Regions from separate parts of the Homo sapiens genome. Here region 1 is linked to region 2. The links are contacts of gene promoters, found by promoter capture Hi-C in human tissues and cell types (Jung and others, 2019). All regions are on one chromosome and are shown on one strand. The core of a region is centred on a gene start or on the middle of the fragment in contact, and the rest is flanking DNA. Distances in the headings are between cores, read along the strand shown. Region 1 overlaps NOTCH3 (notch receptor 3). Region 2 holds the start of EPHX3 (epoxide hydrolase 3).

The links. Contacts are between HindIII fragments. The study calls those that stand out against the background at their distance.
Region 1: a contact is called between a fragment that was not itself captured here and the fragment with the promoter of EPHX3 in region 2, in 5 of the 25 tissues and cell types used here (IMR-90 fibroblasts, dorsolateral prefrontal cortex, heart right ventricle and 2 more).

Annotation. Positions count from the first base shown.
Region 1 is chr19:15,188,485-15,191,184 of GRCh38, forward strand. It overlaps NOTCH3 (notch receptor 3), which reads right to left. Exons shown (of 33, transcript NM_000435.3): 7 at 789-944; 8 at 505-690. Among named protein-coding and RNA genes, the nearest start is that of MIR6795, 10 kb to the left of the region's middle. The HindIII fragment of the contact is 6,552 bases long and covers 1-2,700 here.
Region 2 is chr19:15,231,041-15,233,740 of GRCh38, forward strand. It overlaps EPHX3 (epoxide hydrolase 3), which reads right to left and starts at 1,408. Exons shown (of 7, transcript NM_024794.3): 1 at 929-1,408; 2 at 736-821; 3 at 199-356; 4 at 1-50. The coding sequence starts at 1,171. RefSeq lists an enhancer at 1,158-1,659 and a silencer at 1,998-2,157. The HindIII fragment of the contact is 16,546 bases long and covers 1-2,700 here.

The sequences.
Region 1 (2,700 bases), core at 1-2,500, 43 kb before region 2:
ACCTTAATTTTCAGCCACAGGCTGGACTGTCACCCAGCCGTGGTCCCAACTGGCCCAAGGCTCATGGGTGTCCGCAGAGGCCTTGCCTTCAAACCCCTCCTCCTCTCCCCAGTCCTCAGACTAAGCCCTTTCCCCAGTCCCCAGCCCCCAGCCCCAGGGCCCCCCATAGCCTTTGCCCAGGCTTACTGCAAGCTTGTCTGCAGGCTTCACCTTGACCTCACAGCAGCCCCGACTCTGCCTCTCTATCCCCAACCCCTTCCCGAGTGGGTCCTAAGGCCAAGAATACTCCCAGCCCACCTGAGGTTCTACTGACTCCATTTGACCAAGCCCCCAGAATCACACAGTATTCCCTTCTGGTCCTGACCCCACCTCCTTCCAGGCTTCAGTCTCTAAGGGTCCCACTCCAAACCCACTTACACCCCATTCTGCTCAGCTCCCCATCCGCGGGCTTCTCTGTCCCCGCCCCCTGCCTCAGGACCCGCCCAGGCCACGCCCACCACCCACCTGCCATACAGATACAGGTGAACTGGCCTATGCGGTCGAGGCACGTGGCCTGGTTTCGGCAGGGCCCCGACAGACACTCGTTGACATCGGTCTCACAGCGAGGTCCAGTGTAGCCACGACCGCACTGGCACAGGAAGGAGCCCTGCGTGTTCACGCACCTGCCCAAGTGCTCGCAGGGGTTGGCGCCTGCCGGATGGAGTGCGATCGGTGTGGGCGTGGCTGGCCGGGACCCCCTCCTCTCCCCTCTTTCCCAGCCCATTCACAGACGATGGAGCTCCCCTCACCGATAGAGCACTCGTCCACATCCTGGTCACATGCCCCACCCGTGAAGCCGGGAGGACAGGTGCAAATGGCCCGGCCGTTCACCGGATTTGTGTCACAGATAGCATCCTCGTGGCAGGGGTTGCTGACACAGGCGTCATCCAGGTGACACAGGAGGCCTGGGAAGTGGTAAGCAGAAGTCATAGGCAGATCTTCCTGCTCTGCCCAAAAGGCCCACACCCCTTGAGTATTGTTTTGTCGTTGTTGTTGTTTTGTTTTGTTTTTTGAGACGAAGTTTCGCTCTTGTTGCCCAAGCTGGAGTACAATAGCGCGATCTTGGCTCACTGTAACCTCCACCTCCCAGGTTCAAGCGATTCTCCTGCTCAGCCTCCCGAGTAGCTGGGATTACAGGCATGTGCCACCACGCCCGGCTAATTTTTTGTATTTTTAGTAGAAACGGGGTTTCACCAAGTTAGCCAGGTTGGTCTCAAACTCCTGACCTCAGGTGATCTGCCTGCCTCAGCCTCCCAAAGTGCTGGGATTACAGGCGTGAGCCACCGCGCCCGGCCTGTTGTTTTTATTAAACCTAAACAGTATTTAGTAGCTGCTTTTTTAATCCATTTATTATGAGAACTATCAAACATACAGAAAAGTTGACCATTCATATACCCACCACCTAGATTCAACTATTGTTAGCTTAATCTACCAATCTTCTTTTCTAAACCATTTAAAAATAAATTGCAGACCGGGCACAGTGGCTCACGTCTATAATCCTAGCACTTTGGGAGGCCAAGGTGAGTGCATCGCTTGAGTTCAAGAGTTCAAGACCAGCCTGGGCAATATAGTGAGACCCGTCTCTACAAAAAATACAAAGCTTAGCCGGGCATGGTGGCGCACGCCTGTAATCCCAGCTACTTGGGGGACTGAGGTGGGAGGATCACTTGAGCCCAGGAAGTCGAGGCTGCAGTGAGCTGAGATCATGCCACTGTACTCCAGCCTGGGTGACAAAGTGAGACTCTGTCTCAAAAATAAAATAAAATAAATTGCAAACATCCACATATTGTTTTAAAACCTTTTGACTCTTCTGATTACAAAAGGGTCCTACACTCCAGCCTTTGCTTCTGTAATACCCTCTGCCATGTATGCCCTCTTTCTATATCCACGTTCCCCTCCTAAACATGTTCTCTGATCTTTGCCACTTCCAAAGGTAACTCCCAGGAGTTCCCCATTCCAATGGCTTCTGCCCTGAGCCATGCATCAGTGCAATGTCAGCCTCCTCCCAAGCCTCTCCCAGGCTTACACTTCCCCACTAAAGCTGCCTCCAGCATCATCTTTTTTTCTCTCTCTTTTTTGTTATACACGGTCTTACACTGTCTCCCAGGCTGGAACGCAGTGGCTCAGTCTCAGCTCACTGCAACCTCCACCTTCTGGGCTCAAGCCATCCTTCAACCTTAGCATCCAGAGTAGCTGGGACTACAGGCATGCGCTACCATGCCCAGCTAATTTTTTGTATTTTTGGTAGAGATAGGGTTTTGCCATGTTGCCCAGGCTGGTCTCAAACTGCTGAGCTCAAGCAATCTACCCGCCTGGGCCTCCCAATGTGTTGGGGTTACAGGCGTGAGCCACCACACCCAGCCTACCAAGTTTTTGTAGAGATGACAAAAACTCACTATGTTGTCCAGGCTGGTCTCAAAGTCCTGGGCCCAAGCGATCCTCCCATCTTGGCCTCCCAAAGTGCTGGGATTACAGGCATGAGCCACTGTGCCCGGCCTAGCATAATCTTTTTTTTATTTTTTAAATTTGAGAAGGAGTCTCACTCTGTCACCCAGGCTAGAGTGCAGTGGTGCAATCTTGGCTCACTGCAATCTCCACCTCCTGGGTTCAAGCTACTCTCGTGCCTTAGCCTCCTGAGAGACTTGGATTACAGGTGTGCAC
Region 2 (2,700 bases), core at 158-2,657:
GGCAAGGAGGGCACCCCAGTCATGGGCCACAAGGATGCACTTCGAGTAACCTGTGGGAATTCAAGGAGCTCGCATAAGTGAGGTGCCCAGTAGGACTGAAGCAGGGATGGGGGAAGTAGGTTCCAGCAAGGAGAAAGCGGGGGTATGCGTGTGTGCAGGATGAGGGAGGCCACGCCTAGGATGGGGGTATGTCTGCACCCAGGCCTAGGATGACATCTTTGATGTCCACCAGCAGCAGGTCGATTGTGTAGCAGTCCACATCCCGAGGTGCATCCGAGGGGCCATAGCCTCGCAAGTCCACAGCCACAACATGGAAGCGGCTCTGGAACTCCCGGAGCTGGTAACGCCAGGAGAACCTGCCAGGCGGGCGAGGGAGGGAGGCTGAGTCAGGGCCCTCAGGTTGCACCTGCACCCTACGCACATCAGCAACCATTGGCAAACCCTCCTTCCTGCTCTAAACTTCCCCTAAAAGGAGGATGGGGAATCCCAGGCAGAGGCAGAGGCTGAGGCTGAAGCCAGCTACACCCTGAATCCAGGGAACTTCAATCAACCTCAATACCCCTTTGTCCTGTCCCTTCAGGGCCTAGGGATCCTGGGTATGCTGGCTCAGTACCCCTATCCCCATCTATGTTCAGCTTGTCCCGATCTATACAGCCCTCCTCCCTGCCTCTTGGGAGCCCAAGCTCCACCTGCCCCCGAGTCCCGTGGGCCTCAGGCCCCTGGCCCCAGACGTACCAGTTCTCAGGGAAGCCGTGCAGAAACAGCATGAGGGGTCCGTTACCTCGTCCAGCCGAGACATAGTGCAGACGCAGGCCCGAGCTCTAGGGGGAGGGCACAGCCTGAAGCCTGGGGAACCCTCTCTCCCGAGGCTTGAACCGTCTCGACCCCACGCGACCCCGCAGCCCCGATAGCGCCCCCGTGCGATCACCTTGAGGTTCAGGAAACCGTGCTCACCCAGCGAGGGGTCGCTCAGGCAGGCGGGGGACGCGCTCCGACGGCGCCCGCAGCAGCCGCGCCGGGGCCGGCACAGCACGTGCGTGAGCGCTATGCAGCCGTAGACCGCCGCGGCCACCAGCGCCACCGAGAACACCAGGCTCCACATGAAGGCGCGCAGCAGCTTCAGCGACAGGCGCGACGGCGCCAGCAGCGCGGTCACCACCAGCTCCGGCATGTCGCCGCGCTCCGGGACCACGGCGGCGCTGCCGGCCAGGGGCACCTGCAGCAGCGGCGAAGCGGTGTCAGGGCTCAGGGGCCCATCGCCCTTGGCCTGGGGCCCCTCCGTGCCGTCGGGATTTGTGGGACGCGCTGAAGGAAGAGGCGGGCGGCTCCGACAGAAAACAGCCAGAGCGCACCACTCACCTGAGTGCCAGGTAAACACCTGGGCGCGACAGGGACAGGAAACAAGGGTAGGGTGCGGAGGCTGGGGAGGAAGAGGTTGGAAAGGGGGGAAATAAATGGGCGGGGCCTAGCAGGTCCTGTGCGGGGCTTAGGGCCGGGGCGGGGCCCAGGAAGACTCAGCAGCGGGTGGGTGAGGGTCTAAAGGCGGCAATTCCGGGCCGGGTGCGGTGGCTCACGCCTGTAATCCCAGCACTTTGGTAGGCCGAGGCGGGCGGATCACCTGAGATCAAGAGCTCGAGACCAGCCTGGGCAACGTGGTGAAACCCCGTCTCTACTAAAAATACAAAAATTAGCTGGGCGTGGTGGCGGGCGCCTGTAGTCCCAGCTACTTGGGAGGCTGAGGCAGGAGAATCGCTTGAACCCGGGACGTGGAGGTTGCAGTGAGCTGAGATCGCGCCACTGTACTCCAGCCTGGGTCACAACAGGGAAACTCCGTCTCAAAAAAGAAAAAAAAAAAAGGCAATTCCGAGCCCAGACAAACCTTAAGGAGGGGATCCTGGATCTTCAGTTAAGTGGGCGACACCTGGAGTGAGGGGCGGGGCATATGCAGAGTAGGTGCGGCCTACAAGCCAAAAAGGAGAAAGAGTTGGAATGGTGGGCCTGGCTTATGCGGGTGGGCGGGGAGAGGGTGGATCCTAGAGGAGGTGAGGCCTAACATTGGGCGAAGAAGGCGGGAGCCTGGGCCAATGAGCTGACGGTAGGCCGGGGAGGGGGCGGTGGGGTGGGGTGGGCAATGGGCAATGAGACGGAGGGCGGGGCCGGGACCTAATATGGCGGGTCAGGAGGGTCTGGAAGACGAAGAAGAGGGACAGGCAATGCCAGGTCTAGGACTAGGAGGGAGGCGCGGGCGGTATTAGCGGCTGGAGGAGGCTTCGGGAGGCCCGGCCGACGGCCGCCGCCTGGTGCTACCCACCCAGGGGCGCGCGACCCTCCCTTCGGTCTGGCTCCAAAGACCTAGCAGCACTGACTTCACCCAGCTGTGGTTCCAACGGCGGGTCCAGCGGCCTCGGCCCGGCGCCGTCCTCCTGCTGGCCCAACAGGCCCGCCAGCCCGCCCCTGTACGTCTGTGATTGGACGGCGGCGGCCACTGATGTTCAAGCGACAGGTCCTGGCCCGGGAGCCAATCTGCAGGTGTTGAGGCCCAGGCTCCGAGAGCGGGCCGAGGAGGCGTGGATACCCTGATTCCTAGGGGGCAGGCCTGGTTCCCCCGAGGAGGACCCGGCCTATGAATGACTGGAGTTCTGGGGTTCTGGCCGAAAGAGGAAGTGGGACAGGGCCGGGTGTGATGGGGCCTAGAGTCAC